Regions from separate parts of the Homo sapiens genome. Here regions 2, 3 and 4 are each linked to region 1. Evidence: promoter capture Hi-C in 16 types of primary human blood cells and fetal thymus (Javierre and others, 2016). All regions are on one chromosome and are shown on one strand. The core of a region is centred on a gene start or on the middle of the fragment in contact, and the rest is flanking DNA. Distances in the headings are between cores, read along the strand shown. Region 1 holds the start of SYNE1-AS2 (SYNE1 antisense RNA 2). Region 2 overlaps SYNE1 (spectrin repeat containing nuclear envelope protein 1). Region 3 overlaps SYNE1 (spectrin repeat containing nuclear envelope protein 1). Region 4 overlaps SYNE1 (spectrin repeat containing nuclear envelope protein 1).

Region 1 (3,273 bases), core at 185-2,684:
GAAAATTTGTGGAAGTCACATAGTTCTTCCAGAGGCTCCACCCTTTTATAAAAAAGAAAAAAAAACTTTGAACAAGCATAGACTCTGAGCAGGCACTACAGCAACACATGCTTTCTATTTTCAAGGTATTCATTTTTGATTTCTGAACACCTGCACCCAGTTCTTCACGTGTTGCTTACTTTGCTGTGTTCAATGTCATAAATAAGTTGGTCTGGTGTTCATATGGGTAACTGAGAGCAGAGGTTATATTTTTTATTATAGTCACCACAAAACAGAACTACAATCACCATTTGAATGGAAGCACTTAATGATAGTTTATTACCTACCTTGACTTTTTTCAATGCTTCACAAGTCTCATTTTGGGCACAGTTCATCAACGATTCTTCCACTTTTGTGAACCATGTTGTTATGTCATTAATAAACTTCTCCACTTGTGTACTTTGAGCCGTGAAATCCTTCAGGGTTCCTTTTGCTACTTCAGTTATTTCTTTGGCATGCTCCAGTTTCTGCATTAAGTCTGCTTCTATAAACTAAATATCAAGCAAGATTTCATCAATATCTCTGAAGACCAGAAGAATACTCATTCAGTAGAAATTCTGTTCACGTGCAGCTTAATTGTCAAAGCCACACAAGTCTCATCATGGAAGCCAGCTCCAATGTTAATATGCCTTTCCAAGAAGGAAAATCAGTGGACACAGTTGCCAAACACATGAAGTGATGGGCAAATAGAAAGAGGAAGGATTGTGTTAACACTGGGTGGGAGAGTGGAAGCTCTAACTGAGGTTCCAGGGAAGATGTGAGAGGGCATTCTGAAAGTAGAGCTAGACCTACCCAGAATTCCCAGGTGGTGACCAAAAATCTGCTCTTGATTCTCCCTGGAAATACCCATTGTCTGCTCAGATGTAACACTATCTGGGGCAAACATCACTGTAGGATTTTATCATAAAACAATTTTATTTTTGTCCCCACTGTTGCTTTAAAATATTGAGTGGGGCTAGTTATTCTCTTTTCCCTGGATGATATAGCTGAGGAGGGTCGACTTCTATGGCCCCCTAGTTAGTCAAAGGACATATAGTCACTATACATTGAAAAACAATCTCAATTCCACAATTCAAACATCCTGGCCTATTTGGTAATGAAAACTTTGAACTTAACTTAAATTGAAGGCTTCTATTCTTACCCCCACCTCAGATCTGCTGGGAGCAGGAGACCAACAGTGTGGAAGGGAGTAAATATCTTTCTTTCTCTTCCTTCATTTTATTTCTATTCTGCCACCCTGTGTAAGGCTTCTTTCTCCCATAGGCTCAGACTGGCAGGAGGCGGGTGAGGCATTCTGACTCACTGGATGGGCATCTGTGCCCTCTAGGCCAGGCAAGGTTTAGCATTCATTCCTCCTCCCATAGGCCTTGGTCTTGTGTTTTTCTGACTTTTTTCATGCTTGGACTTCCCAGTGAAGTTCCCTAGACACGACAGTGCGCTGTTCTTTGGCTCTTTACTTTCTCATTCCTCAGCCTGGAGGCCTTTCTTTAACTTCTCATTGCTAAGGTCTGTTTATCCTCCAGATAGCCTTCTTAGGCCACCTATAATATCCTCATATGGTGGTCTCTTCCTTTCTTTTCCTCTCCTGGTTCATATTTGGGCCAGAGTGACCTCTGGCATTTACCTCCAACTAACTTTGAGGTGCAGGACCCCACAAGCCATCATTTATCCTTTGGCAAATATAGCAGCAGTTAGCCAGCCTGTCTGTCACTTTTAGGATTCTTTGGGGGATAGAGATCAGACTCCCATGCCTGCCAAATGCAGGGGACAAATATCCTGTTCTTCAGGTGGCACTGCCGGAACCCTTCTGCCTTGAGGTAAGGTAAGCCACCCCCTCACCTCTTCCTTGAGTATACATAGGGGTGCATGTATGTGCACACGTGTGTGTGTGTGTGAGAGAGAGAAAGACAGAGAGAGAGAGAAACAGAGAGAGAGAGAGAGAGAAAGGAAGAAAGAGAAGACTAGAGTACACCAATAACTCTCTGAAGATCCTGCTCAACTCTGTAAAAGTCCAACTGTTAACCATTGATATCCCCAACACAGGCGGCATGCATAAGGACTCTTTATCTTTTTTGCATATGGATAGCACCTCCTTTGTGTCTTCTTACTTCACACGAAACTTCTAGCATTCCTGTGCATGTATATCATCCCTAATGGTACTGCTGAACAAGCAGTCTCAGGTCAGAGCAAAAGCATAACTGATCAACTAGATTGATTGCTTAGCCCAAAGTAGCAAATCAAAGAGAAAGCACAAGAAGAAGAAAGGAAATGTAGAGAAAATCAACAGAAGCAGCAACACATATGGAAGCTAAAGGGATGCAGCAGAAACCTGAGCCTGGAGCCAGTGGGGCTGCCAGCCAAAAGAGACCCACCATGCTGGATGCTTCCAGGGCTTGGGCACTGAAGTAGCCCAGGTGTTCTGACCAGTGCTGATCTACCCTGGCCTGCTTCATGGTTCCCGTGGATTTGTGCCATCTGAAGGGCCGTGAAGGGAGGTTTATAGTGGTGATCCCTCTAAACCCAGTTATTCAGTAACAGCATTAGGAAAATATCAATAAGAACATCAACATTCATAAGAAGGGTTTCTAGGCTGGGCGCAGTGGCTCACACCTGTAATCCCAGCACTTTGGGAGGCTGAGGCAGGCAGATTGCATGAGCTCAGGAGTACAAGACCAGCCTTGGCAACATGGCAAAACCTCCTGTCTACAAAAAATTTAAAAAATTAGCCTGCCATGGTGGCACGTGCCTGTAGTCTCAGCTACCAGGGAGGCTGAGGTGGGAGAATTGCTTGAGCTTGGGAGGCAGAGGTTGCAGTAAGCCGAGATTGCACCACTGCACTCCACCCTGGGTGACAGAGTGAGACCCTGTCTCAATAAACAAACAAACAACCAACATCAAAAACACCAAAAAAAGAGGGGGTTCTGTTCCTGTCTAGACATGAAATGGTCCATGAGGCAACTTGGCTGAAATGCTTCCGAAATTCAGTAGGCAAAAAAAGAACTACCCTTATTATAATATTCGAGTTGGAAATATGCTATTAATACTGGCTGAAGGAATGTGGAAATATATTAATATTTTGACTCCCATGTCTGATACAATCCACATGTTTCCTTGGAATTATGGTGATGATGATAACATCGAGGACATATAAAGGAGATATACATATATATGATATATATATATGAGATACATATATAGATGTATATGAGATATATGTATCAGATATAGATATAT
Region 2 (3,311 bases), core at 634-3,133, 200 kb before region 1:
CTTAAAGGAATGTTGTGGCTGGTTGGATCTTTTATTCAGACCACTCAAAGTTTCTCTGTATCAGCAATAAGGATGTTTTGCTTTCTTCTCATCCATGCATTCACTGGAGTATTACTTTTAATTTCCTTTCAGAACTTTTCCTTTGCATTCACAACCTGGCTGTTTGTGGCACAAGAGGCCTAGCTTTTGGCCTGTTCCAGCTTTTGACATGTCTTCCTCACTAAGCTTAATCATTTCTAGCTTTTGATTTAAAGTGAGAGACATGAGATTTTTTTCAATTGAACACTCAGAGGCCACTGTATGAATTGGCCTAATTTCAATATTGTTGTGTCTCAGCAAATAAGGAGGCCAGAGGAGAAGGAGAGAGATTGGGAACATTGTTGGTGGAGCAATCAGAACACATGCTACATTTATGAATTAAGATTGCTGACTTCTATGGGCACAGTGTGTGGTGCCACTAATTACAATAGCACCATCAAAGGTCACACTGACTGTAGATCACTGTAACAAATATAACAGTAAAGAAAAAGTTTGGAATATTGTGAGAATTACCAAAATTATGCAGACATATAAAGTGAGCACATGCTGTTGGAAAAATGGTGCTGGTAGACTTGTTCTATGCAGCAATGCCACAATCTTCAATTTGTAAAAAAAAAAAAAAAAACCAAAAAACAAAAAACAAAACATAGGATCTGTGAAACACACTAAAACAAGTGCAATAAAATGAGGTTTGCCCATATTTCATTTGCTTCCACATAATTTGATAAATTGCTAAGTCCTTCTGATAAAGTATGATTGCCTGCAGAATCTTTCTGCCATCTACTCATCATTTTATTGATTTAAAATTTTTTTTTCCTAAATTGAAGTTTAATCACTGTATTGATCTTCTTTACTTTAGACTGACTTCATAAACCTCTAACTTATCCTTTCTTTTTGTCCTGAATTGCTGATCACACTGATGAAATATTTTTAAAAACAGACACCTAAATTTAACTTTCATTTTCAAGCACTATAGAGTTGCTACATTCTGTGATCTATACTTATAATGTAATAGCTGAGAAGATCTGTTGCTGTTACTACTCAATTTAAAACAATGCACTGAATACATTTTCTGCAGGATCAGACATTTCTTTAAGTTACTAAAAAAGATTATGTACCCTGTCTTTTAGGGGAATGATTTAAGAAAAAAAAATTCATATAGCAATATTTGAATGAGTTGACATTAGTTTTTACAATATTTTGACCAATTACCAGTTTTGCAATTTGTATAACCAGCTGTTGTTTTTAGATTCCAGCTAGTTTTGTGTATAAATAGAGTATTTCATGTGCCGTTTCCCCTCCCTTTATGTGTCTTTACACGGTAGAAAGGTTTCCAAAGGCAATGGCAATTAGCGGTGCTGTCTGAGGCTAACTTCCCAAGCAATTTAGGCAAACAAGATTTTAGCCTGAATTTTCCAGGTAATTGCCTTGTTTTGCTGCTAAGGGCAGTTTGGGGAAGAGTAGCAGGACTAGACGAAAATACATTTTTTAAATCTACACACTCAATAGCAGCGTGTGTTTGTAACTGTCATGTTTTTTGGGAGATAAAAAATGACGCCCCATGGCAACAGTATTTGGCTGAAAGACCAAACCATCTAGGTTAATTAAATATGCAACATTTCTTCTAATACTTCTAAACATATTCAATTGTTATACCACTGGAAAGATTTTCCACTTTTCACACCGATTTCTACCCCCCCAACTCGAGCATCAGATTTGTATATGGATTTAACAAAAGTACATAATAACACCACCACCAAAAACCAACTGTTTCAGACGCACAGTATACCAACCCCTTAAACGAGTCAGTGTGGCAAAAATATAGCCTGTAGATACAGGCAACCCAGATATTTACTGACTTTGAAAAGTTATTAAATTTCCAGAGGCCTCAGTTTTCCCTTCTGAAAAGGGGCAATAATAAATGTTTTCACGAGCTTTTGTTAATGCCAACTGAGATAACACCAATATAGTCACAGCCCCTAATAAATGCCCATTCCTGCTTTGCAGAAGTTTTCTTTAATAATTTTTAATGTATTTATTTTTTTACAGACAGGGTCTCACTCTGTCAGCCAGGCTGGATGCAGTGGTGTGATCATAGCTCACTGCAGCCTCAGATTCCTAAGTGATCCTCCTGCCTCAGCCTCCCCAGTAGCTAGGACTACAGGCAAGCACCACCACTCTGGTTAATTTTTAAATTTCTTTAGATATGGAGTCTTGCCATATTGCCCAGGCTGATCTTGAACATCTGGTCTCAAATGATCTGTTTGCCTTGGCCTCCAAAGTGCTGGGATTACAGGCATGATCCACCACACCCGGCTTCTTTATTTTTAATAAATTTATCATCACAGGTTCAAAATGCGCTTTTTAATCTTTGTAACCATTGCATACTTCTGAATGTAACAGCTCAAGATAGTACTTCTTTCACTTTCCATCCATGATGTAAAATATACTACCTTTTAACTTTCCTAAATCTGCCTTTTTCAAGTTTCAAATAATATCCTTAGATTTTACAACTGAAGAAAAAATTCTTATAGCCACACTTTTCATGATTTCTAGACCTCTTTAACAATTATCATCTCTTAAATGCTTAGGATTTCTTTGCCAAAGTGAGGCAGAGAATTTCTAATTAAAACCCAAGTCATTTAAGTATATGCGAATTTTTAACAGAATTACCCTAGAGCAATAATTTGCAAATGACTGGGGAACACAAGGGCATGTTTAATTTGAAAGAAAAACATTTTTAAAGGTACGTTTGATATGATCAGCCTATTGCTCAGCAAAGAACTGCTGTTTGGACATTTCACTTGGCTACAAAGATGTGAAAGGCATGAATCTTATAGCCACTGAATTGTGTTGGTCTCGGTGAGCTCATAATCCAGGGAGTGATCTGTATTAGCTACTGACTTGCTTCCAAGTACCATTTGAAGTGTTGATCATAATCTTTAAGTACTTAGAGCCCTGAGCAATTTAGGGATTGTGTGTCTCTATGCAGTCACTGAGATAAGCTATTTTTCCCCCTTTCCTTGCATAATGGTCTAGAGGGCAGGGTGTGTTCTTTGGAGGGCCACTGTCTGCAGATTTTCCAGGCTGTTGATCCTTTTTTTTTTTTTTCCTTCTTGTAGACTCGATTCTTCTGGTAGAATGACTCCCCAGTGTGGATGCTTCAAAAAAAATGACTTTATTGCTCTTGACTCAGCTTTTAAATATCTTTTAATGTGTTTTAAATTTTCATTTGCTTCCTTGGAGTAATCCATAAACTAGTCTATAATTTC
Region 3 (3,125 bases), core at 238-2,737, 160 kb before region 1:
AATTGATCACAAGTTTGTTTACATTCTGTTAAAACTATTGGTAAGTTTCTAAAGGCAATGTGGCGGCTTGTAACACCAACCTGGTAGAGTGTTATGCGGTCAATAAGCCTGTCCTCGTTCTCCTCCACCAGACCCACGCTTGGGATGCTGCTTTCCACCACCTCCAGCTGTCTGCTGAGCTCCTGCTGGTCCTCATCCAGATGGGACCACGTCTAGAAACACAACATGAGTCTGTGAGCTAAAAAAACCCTCATTAGCGAAAGACATTCTTCCTTGGGTGCAAAATACGTGCCTGACAGTCTCTCCTTAAAGTTATATCAGAGATGTTTGCGTTGGGCCTTGCTTTGGGAAGCAAAAGATGGCTTTAAAGCAAGTAATCAAATGGTGACCCTTGAAAGCATTGTGAATGGGCTCTGGAATCTGCCACTAAGCCCCTTTACAACTGTGAGTAAGCTACTAAACTCTGTACCTCTTTTCCATACGTTACAATGGGGATAATAATAGCTATCTTCTCCATCATGAGGATTAAATGGAATAATGTATGCAGTGTACCTTCTATTGGGTATGCACTTTTTTTTTTTTTTTTTTTTTTAGATAGGCTCTCACTCTGTTGCCCAGGCTGGAGTACAGTGGCACAATCATGGATCACTGTAGACTCGAACTCCTGGGCTCAAGGGATCCTCCTGCTTCATCCTCCCAAGTAGCTGGGACCACAGGCGCATTCCACCACACCAGGCTAACTTAAAAAAAATTTTTTTGTAGAGATGGGGGTCTCACTATGTTGTCCAGCCTGGTCTCAAACTCCTGGTATCAAAAGATCCTCCTGCTTCAGCCTCCCAAAGTGCTGGGATTACAGGCATGAGCCACCACATCTAGCCCAGGTATGTATGGTTTTATTCTTTACCACAGTAAGGATTTAAGTCAAAAGGATGGGGATGTTTGCCTTTCATGTAACGAGTAAACAAATCAATTACATTTGCATATGAAACATATCTATAAATATGAATATATAGTTTATATATTCTGTTAAAGAAAAATACCACATCACTTATTCCTAAGTTCAGACTTTTATTTTATTTAAAACTGGAAAACACTTTTTAAAAGATCAGTTGAAGTCTTTTCCAGTAATTTACGCTGTGGGTCAGCAGTTTCTCAGTGTGAGTATGCTCACTTCACTGTGCAGTTGGAGTGGCAACAGGGCACAGTAGTAGAAACCCATGCTTTTTAAATACACTTACCAAATATCTATTGCCTGGTATTTTCAATGCCTAGGGATCTGGGAGTAAATAAAACAGACACAAACCCAGGCCTTCTAGTGAGGAGAGACAGGCAATCAATAATAAACAATAAACCAAAAACAAACAATAAGTTGTATGGTATAATAGAGTTCTTGTGCTGTGGAAGAATAAAACAGAACTGGGTAGGGGTGGGAGGGAGTGCCCAGGTGTGTGCCTGGTGGGGCTACAATTTAAATGGTGTCATCAGGTAAGTTTCATGGAGAAACACACATTTCAGGTCGTGAAGTCAGACAGATGAAGGTGTGATCTCTGACTTTGCCACCAATTAACCACGTGTCTTGGCAAACAGTTGCTCCCAGACTCATTGCTGAAACAGGGATTCAAAATTCTATCTCAAAGGGTTATGATAAAGATGAGATGGATTCATGTAAATGTAAGAAGTCTTGCCAGGGACCTGACATGTCAATAAAGTGTAACTATTATTACAGAGATTTCAAACGTTAAAGGTAGATGTCTCTCCAAAATATAGGGAATTCCACATCAGGGAATTCCACATCTGGGATTTGGGGGTTAGCTACCTATGAAAATGTTGGCCCAGGGAAAATCCCATTTAGAAAAAATGCAAATACGACCTGCAGGCAACCCAGTTAAGATCAGTAATATTGTGGGAGTGGGTGGGGAAGTCCACAAAGGGGAGAGAGATTATAATCTCTAAAACTTCCAAGGGAAAGAGGAAGAATGAGAAAGCAGGAACAGTTTAGGGCAACTGGTACAGTTACTGAAGAAAGAAAGGGGACTGTTCCATCAATAATGTCCTACATTTCCACGGGGTTCTATAGCTTGCCAGTAGCCACCACTGAGCACTACTCTGTTCCAAGAGCAACCGCATTTGGGACAGAAAAAAATATTTCTACATTTTACTTTCATTTTTTTTTTTTTTTGAGACAGAGTTTTACTCCCGTTGCCCAGGCTGGAGTGCAATGGTGTGACCTTGGCTCACTGCAACCACTGCCTCCCGGTTCAAGTGATTCTCCTGCCTCAGCCTCCCAAGTAGCTGAGATTACAGGCACCCACGACGACGTCCGGCTAATTTTTTGTATTTTTAGTAGAGACGGGGTTTCAACATGTTGGTTTGTTTCATCATGTTGGCCAGGCTGGTCTCGAACTCCTGACCTCAAGTGATCCACCCGCCTCAGCCTCCCAAAGTGCTGGGATGACAGGTGTGAGCCACTGCACCTGGCCTATTTCTACATTTTTCATACTCTTAAGTAAGCTATCAGTCTGAATATCAAAACCCCAAATATCTTCATGCATAGTCTGAAGTCAGTGTGTATCTATCTTACTTTCGACATGGCACAGCAGATAGCCCAATGTACACAGAAAACACAGGGGGAATAAGCAACACAGAACCATAGGAAAAGTGCAGTCCTGAGCCCGAGAGCGCAGCTAGTTCTGAGGTTATGTGAGGCAAACTGCATGGATAGATACATCTTGCATTAAAGGTCTATTTTGCAGCAGGAAGTTTGCAGCACAGAAGATATGACATCAATGGTCTCACCTCTAGAATGTACTCCAGCTCCACACCCCTCTTGTGAGCCCGTTTCAGTACAGCAGAAGCCTGAGCCATCAGCTCTGTATGGAACTGGGTTTCCTTTTGGACTGCAAAGCTGATTATCTTTCTGAAGAGTGTTTCAGTCAAGATCATATGAGATTCCAGGCCCTGAAAGTATTCCTGCAATTTTTCAGGAAGAAAGAAGTCAGCAACTCATTCATATATTATGTTAGAATCAAAATTGGTTTAGGGCCGGGTGCGGTGGCTCACGCCTGTAATCCCAACAGTTGGGGAGGCTGAAGTGGGTGGATTACCTGAGGTCAAGAGCTCAAGAC
Region 4 (3,100 bases), core at 253-2,752, 180 kb before region 1:
GTGGCGTGCCCCTATAATCCTAGCTACTCGGGAGGATGAGGCAGAATCGCTTGAACCCGGAAAGCAGAGGTTGCAGTGAGCCGAGATCACACCACGGCACTCCAGCTTGGGCGACAGAGTGAGACTCCATCTCAAAAAAAAAAAGATTTTTGAAGACAGATGGTAAAAGATCTGGGACTCAGATTTGAACACACTTACCTTAAGTTCTTCCATCCTTTCCTGGATTGTGGAGAGGTCAGATGAGTGGCTAGGGTCCTGCCCTTGTAGTATTTCTTCAGCTTCCACTATCCAGGCCTCCAAAGCTTCTAAACTCTTGGCAAAGGTTTCATAATCAAGAACTCCAGCCTTTTTTTCCACAAAAGAAATTGGTATTTCAGTTAAAAAAAAAAAAATTGGTATTTTAATAAAGTCTGGTAAAAGGGCAAGTGGATATTAAAATTATTTTTCATATTCTTGTATCAAATTGCCATTCTCTAGACGTTCCTATAAAAAAAGCTATAACAATTTAAATCTTCTTTATGTAATTTTTCTAAAAACTATAATTATTTCTATGCACCATAAGTCAATAACAATTCAAATTATTCTTTAAATACATGATCAAACAACACGTCTGAAAAATCTTCTGATTCTTGTAAAAGTCTGAGTTAAATAAACACGAATATTTATATTAAAGCCGCTTAGTGTTTATTAATTGAACAGGCCATGGTGGCAGGCATTGGTTCAGGGGCTTGCATCTTAAACCGATTTTAAAATTCCTTGGCAGAGAACAGCGCAAAACGTCCACCTTCATCGTCCCCACCAGAACTTCCAAGTTTGTTTACTTGCTATTTTCTTGAGTCTTGAAGGAGGCATTGTTGCCATGACAAGGAATTCTTTTTCTGTGTTTGTGCCCAGATATTAGAGAACAGCCAATATACAGAAGATACTAAATAGGAGCTCTGTACCTGTAATGAAGTCTGCTGTTTGCAGAGAGCTTGCTCCAGGGCACACAAGTGTTGACTCAAAGAGAGTTGATCCGATTGAATAGCTGATGCTGCGGAAGCATCCACTTGTTGCTTCAGTTGCTCTCCCAGCTCATGGAGAAAAAAGAGGGAATCTTTAACTGTGCCCAGTCCTTTGAGGAGGTCCTAGAAGAGGTGAAAATATGCCCACTCTGAAGCATGTTGATACTCCTTATCATAAACAGCAATCGGCAAAGGGCTACACATGTAGAAACACACCATTCCTACGGATCATATTATTAGGCTAAATAAACTTCACCTGTGGAAAAATGAACACGCACTGAACCCCATTTTTTAAAATGCTATGTTAATATTTTAAACATACATTATACACATATAACCTATGGCTATATATAATTACTCTTTTGTTAGTAAAAGCTATGTAGGTTCATTACAGGACCTTGGGGAAATGCAGAAAAACATACATAAACAAGAAAAAAAAAAAAAACAAACATGACCCAAGAGTAGAGCCAATAACTGGAAATATTTTGGCAGTTTTTTTCCTGCCTCTTTATGTAATTTGTATCAAATTGAAAACAAAATGTTATATTTTTCCTTTTTCTATTATTATCATACACACCAGGAATTTGTCCGTGGTGTCTTCTATATGTGTGGTCACATTATTGCAAGTACAGCAACCTCCTATCTCAGTAGGGTACAGAACACAGTGATGATTTTGGTGAGCAGGGGGTGAGAGTAGCCTGTATTCCCATTCTTTTCCATGGGATCTCTTTGCCTCCACTTTCTGTGGGACCCTCCTACAGGTTAAAAAATATAAGCCAATGGAAACTCCCTGTTTCTGCTTTCTATCCTATCATTGAGAGATAATAAGTGACTGCTTCTTCTACCTGTTGCTGGTATCCCACTCAGTCATGTTATGCCTAGGCAGTGACTTCTGTGAGAGAAAGAAGAACAAAGGGCTCTTTACGCTTGACACAGATAACAGACAAGGTGTATTTCAATTCAGGAGTATTGAAAATGACAGTTCTTGTACACACAAATTATGTGGATGAAAAAAGCACTGTATTATCTTTATTTTAAAATACCCATCTTTAGCTTTAAAGTGATTATTCAGGTTGAAGATATTAGAATAGGTTAAACTTTTATTTACATAGTTTTTATAGCTTGCCTAATTCTAATAAACTGATTTGGAAAAGTTTATAAAAAGATCCTCGTAACAAGCTCTTAAAAATAAAGACAAATAAGGACAAATAGTAAGAGCCATGTAATGCTTGAAACAAGAGAAGAGCTGTTCCTTAAACCCTTAAGTAGGTTATTGGCAGCTACAGTGAAAAAGAGAATTATTAAAAAGCCATTAAAAGAAGTATACCAGTAAATTAGGAGAGAAAGACTTCTTTCTACCATTAATATCTTAGATGAAACTATTGTGTAGATGCTTACATAGGAGTTAATGAATGTAAATGGACAACATCTGGAACAGAAGATTTTTTAAAGATAGAACACTATTCCCCATATGGTCATGTCTTATATTGACCACCCTAGAAAACACAAAGAGCCTCAATCTTTCACATTGACTAAATTCCACTAGGAAAAATGGGAAAACAACTCATTTTAAAAAATAAAACAATGGGAGGAGACCTCTTAGTCTGATGCATGTGCACCTGTGTTCTGAAAATCAGGCAGGCTCTTTGATCCTAAGACAGTTATTTTTGGGTAACTGTCTCACATAGAAAGACATACCAAAGCTTACACAGACCAAAAGCTAAACTTGGGCAGTCTAAGAAGGGCATGTGGGGAAAACAAGGTAGCTCCTGAACATACGTTGCAATCTTGAATCCATGTGGCAACCTCATCATCGGCAATGTCCTTGTTTGTGGCTGCCTTCAACAGCTCATTGGTTCGATCCTCCTGCTGCTGAACTGTCGAAGCACACTGTTTGGAGTAGTCCTTGTATCTTTGCCAAAGCTGAAGTAGGGCCTTGCTGGACTGTAGCTGCTCAGCAATCTCTTCCAGCAAGTTATTCCATCTGGAAATAATAACCAACACTCATGAGCAGATTACCACCTCTCACCAAATGTGGATATGTGCTATTTTATTTTTCATGATCCTGGTTCATGTGAATATAGACATAATCATTT

Evidence for each region. Contacts are between HindIII fragments. The CHiCAGO score rates a contact against its expected background, and 5 or more counts as called.
Region 2: a fragment that was not itself captured here is called in contact with the fragment with the promoter of SYNE1-AS2 in region 1 in 1 of 17 cell types (neutrophils); the score reaches 6.4 in neutrophils.
Region 3: a contact is called between a fragment that was not itself captured here and the fragment with the promoter of SYNE1-AS2 in region 1, in 1 of 17 cell types (neutrophils). The highest score is 14.1, in neutrophils.
Region 4: a contact is called between a fragment that was not itself captured here and the fragment with the promoter of SYNE1-AS2 in region 1, in 1 of 17 cell types (neutrophils). The highest score is 12.1, in neutrophils.

The regions. Positions count from the first base shown.
Region 1 is chr6:152,400,812-152,404,084 of GRCh38, forward strand. It overlaps SYNE1-AS2 (SYNE1 antisense RNA 2), which reads left to right and starts at 1,435. Exons shown (of 2, transcript XR_007059819.1): 1 at 1,435-1,856. SYNE1 (spectrin repeat containing nuclear envelope protein 1) reads right to left here. Exons shown (of 146, transcript NM_182961.4): 47 at 327-530. The HindIII fragment of the contact is 21,096 bases long and covers 1-3,273 here.
Region 2 is chr6:152,198,338-152,201,648 of GRCh38, forward strand. The region is part of intron 127 of SYNE1 (spectrin repeat containing nuclear envelope protein 1); the gene reads right to left. Among named protein-coding and RNA genes, the nearest start is that of SYNE1-AS1, 180 kb to the right of the region's middle. The HindIII fragment of the contact is 3,321 bases long and covers 224-3,311 here.
Region 3 is chr6:152,236,737-152,239,861 of GRCh38, forward strand. SYNE1 (spectrin repeat containing nuclear envelope protein 1) reads right to left here. Exons shown (of 146, transcript NM_182961.4): 108 at 2,797-2,970; 109 at 81-212. Among named protein-coding and RNA genes, the nearest start is that of SYNE1-AS1, 140 kb to the right of the region's middle. The HindIII fragment of the contact is 6,097 bases long and covers 1-3,125 here.
Region 4 is chr6:152,218,059-152,221,158 of GRCh38, forward strand. It overlaps SYNE1 (spectrin repeat containing nuclear envelope protein 1), which reads right to left. Exons shown (of 146, transcript NM_182961.4): 119 at 2,784-2,988; 120 at 945-1,127; 121 at 199-345. Among named protein-coding and RNA genes, the nearest start is that of SYNE1-AS1, 160 kb to the right of the region's middle. RefSeq lists an enhancer at 3,079-3,100. The HindIII fragment of the contact is 2,405 bases long and covers 301-2,705 here.